2 separate regions of the Homo sapiens genome follow, and region 1 is linked to region 2. The links are contacts of gene promoters, found by promoter capture Hi-C in blood cells and fetal thymus (Javierre and others, 2016). All regions are on one chromosome and are shown on one strand. Each heading gives the region's core, a stretch centred on a gene start or on the middle of the fragment in contact. The rest is flanking DNA. Distances are from core to core; before and after follow the strand shown. Region 1 overlaps PGCKA1 (PDCD10 and GCKIII kinases associated 1). Region 2 holds the start of PTTG2 (pituitary tumor-transforming 2).

What was found. The method cuts DNA at HindIII sites, captures the fragments that hold promoters and counts their contacts. A CHiCAGO score of 5 or more calls a contact.
Region 1: a fragment that was not itself captured here is called in contact with the fragment with the promoter of PTTG2 in region 2 in 1 of 17 cell types (neutrophils); the score reaches 5.6 in neutrophils.

Annotation. Positions count from the first base shown.
Region 1 is chr4:37,581,266-37,587,063 of GRCh38, reverse strand. All of the region lies in intron 2 of PGCKA1 (PDCD10 and GCKIII kinases associated 1), which reads right to left. It also overlaps a transcript of RELL1 not described here. Among named protein-coding and RNA genes, the nearest start is that of RELL1, 100 kb to the left of the region's middle. The HindIII fragment of the contact is 7,650 bases long and covers 1-5,798 here.
Region 2 is chr4:37,956,288-37,961,740 of GRCh38, reverse strand. PTTG2 (pituitary tumor-transforming 2) reads right to left here and starts at 1,343. Exons shown (of 1, transcript NM_006607.3): 1 at 613-1,343. The coding sequence starts at 1,306. The coding sequence ends at 731. The region is part of intron 2 of TBC1D1 (TBC1 domain family member 1); the gene reads right to left. The HindIII fragment of the contact is 1,467 bases long and covers 1,049-2,515 here.

The sequences.
Region 1 (5,798 bases), core at 2,132-4,631, 380 kb after region 2:
CTGGAGCCTCTGGAAAGAGTGTGGCCCCGGTGACACCTTGATCCCTGATACCCACCCCTGGATCAAGCCCACTGATACCAATTTCAGACTTCTGGTCTCTAGAACTGGGAGAGAATAAACTTCCATTGTTTTGTTTTGTTTTGTTTGTTTTTTTGAGACAGAGCCTCACTCTGTTGCCCAGGCTGGAGTGCAATGGCACAATCTCGGCTCGCTGCAACCTCTGCCTCCCTGGTTCAAGTGATTCTCCTGCCTCAGCCTCCCCAGTAGCTGGGATTACAGGTGCCTGCCAACACGCCCAGCTAACTTTTATATTTTTAGTAGAGATGAGGTTTCACCATGCTGGCCAGGCTGGTCTTGAACTCCTGACCTCAGGTGATCCATCCACCTTGGCCTCTGAAAGTGCTGGGATTACAGGCGTGAGCCACCATGCCCGGCTGCTTCCATTTTTTTAAACCTCTAAGTTCGTAGTAATTTGCTGCAGCAGCACAGAAAACTAGTAACATCCCCAAATCACTTCATGCTTGAGGACCAAACCCCTTGTCCTTCCAACTCTTCCTGGGAGGACTCATGGAATGTAGAAGAGTCCCTCGGACCAGCCGTGCATCTCTTGCCACCCTCTTTCCTTACCGTGCTCCACCCTTCTTCAAGTCTAATTCTCAGCACTTAGGACAGCACCTGGTACAGAGCAGGCAGTCAATAAATGTGGAATGAATGAATGATTTAATGGCTATGGATTAAAAACGAGAGCACTATCAGTGAACCTGTTGTGTGTCTGCAACCAATCAAGACATTTCCAGTTTGTGCCAGCCGTGTCGCCCAGGTGTTATGAGGGTGGGCTCAGGAGACAGAAAACCCTGCTACTGTGGGACTTTGGGCCTCAGTCACTTGGCCTGTAGATGGGGATAATAATATTCCTACTATATAGTGTTGCTGGGGGTCATATGAGCAAACATTCATAATAAACATAGACCAGGGGTGTCTTAACCACCCCATTTGGATACAGCATATTAAAACACACCCCCCAAAAAGAAAAAGATGGAGGTCTAGTATCCAAGAAAGATATAATCTAGTTGCCAGAACCTATGCATACAAACAAGAGTATTAACAATGTCAAGTAGGACTTGTTTCTGGAATAAGGGCTACATGGTATATTTCTATCAACTGTGACACCAATTGAAAGATAGAAAACCCCAAGTACAACAACAGTCCCGTAGACAGAAAAATCGCTTTTGCTATGGAACTGTGTACACATGTGTAACATTGTACCTTTCAGAATACTCTTAAACTACCCCATTTCTAAAGCCCAGGATTTTATTCCCAGCCTCTACTCCTCCTTTACTTTCCTTTTCTGCTGATAATTCATAGATGAGCTGGATAAATAGGACAGGCGAGAAGAAGCACGTGCACCTCCTCCCCTCCCTCAACACCTCTCCTCACCCCTCTCCTTCCTCAACACCTCTCCTCTCCCCTCCCCTCCCTCAACACCTCTCCTCTCCCCTCTCCTTCCTCAACACCTCTCCTCTCCCCTCCCCTCCCTCAACATTTCTCCTCTCCCCTCCCCTCCCTCAATACCTCTCCTCTACCCTCCCCTCCCTCAACACCTCTCCTCTCCCCTCCCCTCCCTCAATACCTCTCCTCTACCCTCCCCTCCCTCAACACCTCTCCTCTCCCCTCCCCTCCCTCAACACCTCTCCTCTCCCCTCCCCTCCCTCAACACCTCTCCTCTCCCCTCCTCTCCCTCAACACCTCTGATCTCCCCTCCTCTCCCTCAACACCTCTCCTCTCCCCTCCCCTCCCTCAATACCTCTCCTCTCCCCTCCCCTCCCTCAATACCTCTCCTCTCCCCTCCCCTCCCTCAATACCTCTCCTCCACCCTCCCCTCTCCTCTCCCCTCCTCTCCCCTCCCCTCCTGACCCTCCCCCTCCACAATTCGCTCTGAAATCCTGACCCTTTTCATGCCTGCAATACTTTGTTTATCCTGGACTCTTTAAAAGCAAACCAACCAACAAACAACAACAACTAGTCAGGAGGATAGGTAGTAAAAAAAAAAAAAAAAACAAGTCAAAGAAAAGGAGAAAAGAGCTTAGAACTGTTTGAGAAACAAGGAAGGCAGACTGGATTGTAATAATGTAACTGAAGCAATCATAAAACATTACTCATTGAAACATCTCAGGTCAACTTTATGATGGTGAATTCAAGAGGTGTACAGGGGAAGGCGAAAGAAAGGAGGAAAGAAAAGAGGGAGGAAAGGCGAAGGAGGGCAAGAAGGCGAGGAAAAGCAGGCAGGCACATCCAGAGTGACACCTTGCACTCCCAGCTCCTCGGAGGCTGACCAAGATTGACCCTGGGGCACCCTCCATCCCCGCCTTCTGCTGCTATAGCCAAGACCACAGGAGCAGCCTGCACCGAATGAAGTGAGTGCTGAGATTTAACAGCCGTACTCGAAAACTGCCCCTTCCCTGCTTCTGAAGGAAATATACATCATTTGCGGCTTTTAGGCTCCCCTCCTTCCCCAGGAAAACCACAGGATCTATACTGTTCTTCCAAGCTGCACAATTACAAAGGATGTTGTGGTGGTTTTCCTCTTTCAGAATCAGGTTTCCAGTTTGGGTCCTCCCCGGCTTGCCTCCCATTAGGGCACACCACATGGGTTTCCTATAGACCTGGTCCCATACCTGAGGGTCATGCTTCCGCGCCTCTCCGGAGCTTGGCGGGGACAGCCTCTTCCTGGTTAGAGGTTCTGTCCTCTCTCACCTCGCCCTGAGTTTTCCTTCCCCAGCAACATTCCTTCTCTAGATCAGACGGACAGGCTCTAATGTCCAAGGTTGTGTGACTGCTGACGAAAAGGGTGGGGACTAATGTACTCACACCCAACCCCTGCATGCCTGTGTCTACAATTATTCTTCCTTATATGATGTGTCATATCAAATTTAATTCATTTCTTTTTTCATATGTCACTCCCACTTCTACATCTTGCATTTAGCAAGGACTTCTCCTAAGCCCAGGGGCAACAAGGAAATGCTCCGGGTCTAGCATGTGACACACAGCAATGAAAAAAATATGCTCTTTTGACGTAAGATTGGGTTCAAAATGAGCAGTCTATCAGCTGTCTTCCTTGCCTCCCTTTTGGCAACAGCTAGCTTAAAGGTAAGAATTCAGTTGTTGGGTACCCTTTATTACTGAGCAAAATCAAAATTTGCTTCCTCTTTGGAGCATAAAAAAGCAACAGGCAACAAAGGGAAAATCCTTCACAACCACTTCTTAGTTTACACAGGGGAAAAACAAACACCATTAGGATGGCTGTGTCCACCCAATGCTGCTGCCGCCTGCTTCTGCAGCCCTGTGTTGGGGGCTGACTCTGTTTTGTGTTTAAACAAGGCCAGGCTATCACGAGGTCAGGAGATCGAGACCATCCTGGCTAATACGGTGAAACCCCGTCTCCACTAAAAATAAAAAAAAATTAGCTGGGCGTGGTGGTGGGCGCCTGTAGTCCCAGCTACTCGGGAGGCTGAGGCAGGAGAATGGCGTGAACCTGGGAGGCGGAGCTTGCAGTGAGCCGAGATCGCACCACTGCACTCCAGCCTGGGCGACAGAGCGAGATTCCGTCTCAAAAAAAAAAAAACAAAAACAAAAACAAACAAACAATAAAAAAAGAAGGCCATGCTAATGCCATGTCAGTCATTGGTGAAGCCTCCTTGCTGGGAGGGTAGCAATGGAGGTAGGGGAAGGGCGAAGTCCAGGGAAGCCCAGGAGTTCTCCAGCCAGGCAGAGAAATTAACTGAGTATTCATTAGGAAGTCAAGGGCATATAGGAAAAGACTCAACCCATCTGGAAGCTGCCTTTAAATAGTGATAGCTTTGAAGAATGACAGGGACATTTTAAAAGGACACAGGAATCCACTTGTAGAAGTTTTACTGGCCAAATGTGGAACAACTGGAATATTAAAATAATTACTAATCTACAGCATTTGTAGCCAATTGAATAAAACAAGGACTTATGAGTCCACACTAAGATACATAAAGGGAAAGGGAACACTCTACCTTACAAGTAGGAAACCAGCTAACAAACATACGAGAAATACTGGAACTAGAAAAATCATTTGATAGCCATCATAATAATAGAAAAACCATTTGATAGCCATCATAATAATAATTGATGTCAGTAAGAAGTATCAATGGATGGTAGGACTAGTGGGTGAAATTTTGAGGAGGACAGGATATTTAGTCTTAAAGTAGCTCCCCCCCATATGATTAAGGACAAAATATTATCCTTACGTTGGAGAAACCCGGCATACAGCGCCTTAACCAAGTAATCAAAGGTAATAGTGCCATAATGAGACTAATCAATGGCATGTGGCTCCTGATAGGATGCACTGAGAACTTAGCCTCACTTCTGTGATTTCCTGACAAAAGAGCATACTCTGAGTTGAAACAACGAGGGATAGTCTGCAAAGCAACTGGCCTGTACTCTTAAAATAATGTAATGTTATGAAAAAGCAAAGAAAGACAGAAGAATGCTTCCAAATTCAAGGAGATTTAAGAGACATGACAGCCGATGCACTGCATGTCCTTCTTGCTAAAAGGTCGTTATTGACATAATTGGTAAAATCTGAATAAGGTCTGTAGATTAGGTAATCGTATTAAATTGATGTGAATTACCTGCTTTTGAACATTGTACTGGGGTTATATAAGAGAATGCTCTTGGGGAAGGGCAGAACAAGATGGCCAGATAGAAGCCTCCACTGATGTTCACTTCATTGCCCCACAGGAACACCAAATTTAACAACTATCATCTACACCAACAAGCACCTTTATAAGAACCAAAAATCAGGTACACAATCAGTGTACCTGGTTTTAACTTCATATTGCTGAAAGAGGCACTAAAGAGGGTAGTAGGAAAGACAATCTTGAACTGCCGCTGCCCATTCCTTGGCAGTGGCTGCATGTCGTGGAGAGAGCATCTGTGTGTTTGGGGGAGGGAGAGTACAGTGATTTGGGGACTTTGCGTTTGAACTCAGTGCTGCCCTATCAGAGCAGAAAGCAAAACCAGGCTGAAATCAGCTAAGCCACGACCCCCCAGCCTACCCACACACAGAGGGAGCATTTGGACCAGATCTAGCCAGAGGGAAATTATATATTCCAGTTGTTGGAACTTGAGTTTTGGCAAGCCGCACCACCATGGACTAAAGTGCTCTGCAATCCTAATACACTTGAAGGGTAGCCTAGGCCACAAGAACTGTGGTTCCTAGGCAAGATATCAGTACTGTGCTGGGGCCAGAGCCAGTGGACCTGGGGGGGCACCTGATCTACTGAGACACCAGAGTGGCTAAGGGAGAACCTGTGTCACGTGTCCCAAAACCCAGGCAGCACAGCTCACAGCAATGAAAGTGACCCCTTCCTTGTGCTTGAGGAAAAGACAGGGAAGAGTAAAGAGGACTTTGTCTTACACCATAGGATACCAGCTCAGCCACATTAGCATAGGGCACCAGGCAGAGTCATGAGGCCCCCATTCCAGGCCCCAGCTCCTAGATGACATTTATAGACACACCCTGGGCCAGAAGGGACTGCACTTCCTTGAAAGGAAGGACCAAGTCCTGGCAAGACCCATCACCTGCTGAGTGGAGAGCCCTTGGGCCCTGAATAACCAGCAGGAATACCCAGGTAGTACGCTATGGGCCTTGGGTGAGACTCTGAGATGTGCTGGTTTCAGGTGAGACCCAGCACATTCCTAGCTGTGGTGGCTATGGGGAGAGACTACTTCTACTTGAGAAAAGCAGAGGGAAAAGTAAAGTGGACTTT
Region 2 (5,453 bases), core at 94-2,593:
GACATAACCACCACTCACTTTCAGTAGAAAGAGCAAAACCACTAACATGTATAATGAATAGCAGCTCCTGGCCTAGGAAACTCACTAAGTCTTGGAATTCAGGAACCAGAGAGGAAACCCTGAAGCCTCTCAGGTGATCTGGATTGACACCAGACATCTGTGACTCTATCAAAGCTTTGTACAGAATTCAAGGCATGGACATAAAAGTGCTTTAAGTTGTAAGACATTAGCAGAATAAGATACGGGATTTCATGAACATTATTTAGCCATATAGACATTTTAAGATAATCAGTGTTAGTCCTAGCTGCAAATATGTTCCCTATTTTTTTTTAGCATTCCACAAAATTCTCATTCTTTTAATTATCTCCCTTTGCTGCTAGGACCTCCTTAAGGCTTTCATCTGGTTCACACTAGGCTGGGAAGAAAAGATGTAGAAGTTCTTGGCCTGGCCCTGGCCTTTTCTCCTTTATCCTTTGCTATTTCCTGTCTCCTGTTTCTCTACAGAAGTAAATCATGTTGACATATCCCCAAAGAGTACGGGCTGTAGTATGGAAGAAATATAGAAACAAGGGACAGCTGAGACAGATGCACATAAAGAGGAATATGACCCACTTTATATTTATGTATTTATTATGTTGTTAAACAAATAATGCTTTATTAATACAAGTACACACAAACTCCAAAGCACTAAGAAATTTAAATATCTATGTCATAGCAAACAGCTGGCAATTCAACATCCAGGGTCGACAGAATGCTTGAAGGAGACTGCAAACAGATTGCATTCCCATGGTGGAGAGGGCATTTTCACAGGTGAAGGGGGGCCCAGCTGAAACAGCTTTTCAAGCTCTCCCTCCTCATCAAGGATCATGAGAGGCACTCCACTCAAGGGGAGGTGTGCAATCTGGCGCTCTTCAGGCAGGTCAAAACTCTCAAAGTCTAGAAGATTGAAGGGAAAGAATTTTTCTATTTCTGGATAGGCGTCATCTGAGGCAGGAACAGAACTTTTTGTTTTAACAGTCTTCTCGGTCATCTTTTTGGCAGAAAAGCTTGGCTGTTTTTGTTTTCTGGGTCCATTGGTCTTTACTGACTTTTCTGTAGCTCTGTTGACAGTGCCCAAAGCCTTTCTGGTAGCTTTAGGTAAGGCTGATGGAGCATCGTATGTTTTGCCAAAACGTCGTGTTAAAACTTGAGATATCCCATCTAATGCTTTGATTGAAGGTCTAGACTCCAGCTTCAGCACATCCTTGGCAGCCACACGGGTGCCTGGTTCTCCAATTTCCTTATCAACGTAGATCAGAGTAGCCATTCTGGATTATTGCCGCTCTCAACAGCCACATTCATCTAAGACCGTGGTCCCACTTTATATTTAGATAGAATGTTAACTATAGTGGAAATTGGTGTAATATCTAATTTTTGTGCCTAGCACATCATCTGAGAGTTAGCATGAACTCATATAAAGAGCACAGGCCTGAGGTCAGACAAACCTGGGTAGGAATCTCGGGAGTACCACTTTCTGTTAGCTGTAAGATTTGGGCAAGTTAGCTAACATCCAAGCCCTATTTCCACATCCATAAAATGGAGGTAAAACCCAACTCTTACACATTGTTAAATGGTCAAAAACCACTTAGGTAAAGGGCAGAGCAACCAATAAATAAATAGTTTCTGCCGTTATTGCATTTTCTAATTTATAATGTACTTTTGCATACATTATTTCACTTCTTACTAACCTTTAATAAATGCAAGTCTTCCATTTTTTACTAAAGCAGCACCCCTGAAGTTTCTCTAAACTGCAAAATGCTCAAATGTTTCATCCCGAGTTATCCCTTTTGCCAACTCTGATCTACTGGTGGCAGACAATCCAGCATGCAGTGGTGGGGAGAGCCGAGAGGCCCTCTCTGAGCAACGTGACTACTAATGGTGCTTGCTTGGGCAGGAATACTGGACTATGGCAATGACTATATACCTTTGCCAACCCAACCCCAATCTAGTCCAGGCTATTGATTCACAGCAGCAAAGGGTCACTTCTGTTTCTAAGGCCTAGAGATAAGTTGAGGGCACTTTTGCAGTGAGCCATTTCAATTCAATGATAAATATTCTTGTTGTCTAATTCATTCTATGAATCTTTGACCCAGTGACATATGTGCGTACGTATTTGAGCCCATATGCAAAAATATACAGTTGAGTCTTGAACAATACAGGATTGAGTCGCATGGATCCACTTGTTCTCAGATTTTCTTCTGCGGCTGCCACCTCTGAGACTGCAAGACCAACCCCTCCTCTTCCTCCTCCTCCTCAGCCTATTCAACGTGAAGACAATGAGGGTGAAGACCTGTATGATGATCTATTTCTACTTAATGAATAATGCAATATGTTCTCTTCCTTATGATTTTTCTTAATAACATTTTCTTCAGCTTACTTTATTGTGAGAATACAGGATATAGTGCATAAAACATACGAAATATATGTTAGTCGACTGTGTTATTGGTGAGGTCAACGGAAGACTATCGGTTAAGCTTTTTGGGAGTCAAAGGTTATAGGTGGATTTTCGACTATGCAGGTGATTGGCGCCCCTAACCCTCACATTGTTCAAGGGTCAACTGTGCCTGTTTATTTGCATAAGGCCACCTCAAATACAAAGGGCCATTCAAAGGTATCATTAGAAGTCTTGCTCTTAACCTGACACAGCTAGCTAGAAAGTGACAGAGCCATGACTTGGACCTGGTATATCAACTGATTGATGTAACCTCTATATGGAGCTTGTAAATTCAAGTGCCACCCAGAGTCAGTGAGGGAATGTAAATATATGATGTGCCAGTGGAAGACAATGGGGAACGGGGAGACTGGTGGGGTAGAGTGTGTGTGCCAATCTGCAGGCATTCCAATTGAATTGTTTTTCTTCAAACACTATGGTAGGCAACTTTTACAATAAAGTTTGCAGGCCACCTGTCTGTAATCCTGTCTCATTATACCATTAGCAGGAATTATTATTAAACAACTTCTTTCAACTCTTCCGACACATTCATTTTTTATTAACAGCCTTCTAATAGTACTCTGAATTGGGGCAGAAATAATTAAAGTAAAAGATGTCATATATGTGTCCTAAAGAAGGGACAAATAAAGGAGGTCTAGAGGTGTGAAAGCAAATCTAATCCAGGAACACTTTCTGGAGGAGGTGGCATTTGAGCTAGGAGAGATGGAATGCTTAAGTAAGAGAAGGAGCTAGGAGAGACGGAATGCTTAAGTAAAAGAAGAGGAAATCTCCCCAGGCAAAAGAAACAACAATGAACAAAACAGAGGAAAGCATGGCTACGAGGAAAAATTAACTGTCCCATTTTGCTGGAAAATAGAGTACACCATCTTGGAACAAAAATAAAAAATATGAAGAATCATCTGGGACCAGATATGGTCAAGGTTCTTGATTGCCAAGCTAAGGAATCTGGTGTTTATTGGTTAGAGATGAAAATGGCCTGCTCAGAGAATGGGTTTTCTAGGAGATGAATCTGCTTTGTTGATCTTACAGACTCTTTCTTAATATGAAGCATACTTTTTTCCTAGACAACTTCAAATCTGAAAAATGTGTTACTATTCTTAGCATATGTTTTTGAAAGTAAACTTGGTCGCCATAAACGTATATGAGAAAAGGGGCATAAAAACTGGCAGCAAATCCAGTAACTGTAGCCATCTGTGTTTCTGTTGTTCTAAGCAGAGATCAACAAAAATAGCATTTTAAAAAACATATAAGTATGGTTGAAGTAATATTTTCCAGTGAAGCTTTCCACAAGTGGCTGCTGATAATTTTATCTGGTATTTTAAAATAAAATACACTACCTACAGGACACCATGAAAAACTATCATCTGTTGCATTATAAATGGAAGAATAAAAGGAAGGAAAGACAGAAGGGAGGGAGGAAAATGATATGTAGTTTGTCAGGAAATGTAAATCACATGTCAGAATTGACCTTTTAAAAAGTAATAATGAGCAATAAGAAAAACATCAAACAATCTGTTCTGAACTTTTATGAAAAAGTGGTGTAGGATAAAAATGGAGTTTGGAGTCAGAAAGACTGTTTTGGAATCTCAACTCTCTTCTCTTTCTATATTATTTATTTATTTGTTTTTATTTTTATTATTTTAAGAGATAGGACCTTGCTCTGTTGCTGAGGCTGTGATCATAGCTCACTGTAGCCTCGAACTCTTAGGCTCAGGCAATCCTCCTGCCTCAGCCTCCTGAGTACCTAGGACTACAGGCACGCACCCCCATGCCCAGGTAATCTTTTTATGTTTTGTAGAGAGGGGTCCTGCTGTGTTGCTCAGGCTGGTCTTGAACTCCTGGGCTCAAGATATCCTCCTGCCTTGGCTTCCCAAAGTGTTAGGATTACAGGCATGAGCCACTGTGCCCAGCAATACATATTCCTGTCAACAGATAAATTCCTTGTCTCTAAAAAGTAGTGTTATTTATTACTTTAATGATTGTGAAGAATGAAAACATGTGTCATATCAGGTATCATACATTTGTCTCTTTCCTTCTTTTGGAAAGGAAGAGATACGTCTGCCACATTGTGTAACTGTGGCCATGAGTATTATACAAACTCATGAGGGGCTTATGTTCTCCCATCTCACGTAGGGAGTCTAAATGTTTATGTGGTCAGCTTGATCCTTCCTGTAAGGGGAGGGAGGCCATGGTGCAGATAATCCCAAAGACCGGATAGGAGTAATTCTTTAAGTTTCACCGTGGCATGCATCAGTGGCTTCTTTGGGGGAAATTCATTTCTACACTCCCTTCTTTTTTTTTTTTTTCTTTTGAGACGGAGTCTTGCTCTGTTGCCCAGGCTGGAGTGCGGTGGCGCGATCTCTGCTCACTTCATCTTCCACCTCCTGGGTTCAAGTGATTCTCGTGCCTCAGCCTCCCAAGTAACTGGGACTACAGGTGTGCTCCACCACACCTGGCTAATTTTTAGTAGACATGGGGTTTCACTGTGTTGGCCAGGCTGGTCTTGAACTCCTGACCTCAAGTGATCTGCCCATCTCGGTCTCCCAAAGTGCTGGGATTAGAGGTGTGAGCCACTGTGCCCGGCTACACTCCACTTTTCTTAAGTTAATACTAACATTAGTTGGCGTCCCTGAGCATATCACATGAGGTCAAGGGGAAAAGACACAGAATGGAAGTACAGGGAAAAGCCATTTGGTCATTTTAAATGTGTTAAAGCACAATGAGGATAGTCTGCTGGAAGTTTATTCACTTCACATTCAATATGTATTGAGCACCTACTGGGGGCCAGGTACTGTCTAGTCTGTGGCAACACATCTGTGAGCAAAACAAACCAAAACCCCTGCCCTCGGGAAACTTACATCCTAGTGAAAAGAGAGTCAGACAACGAATGAAACAAATTTTTAAATGGCATAGTGTATTAGAAGTTCATTAAGCCGGGTGTGGTGGCTCATGCCTGTAGTCT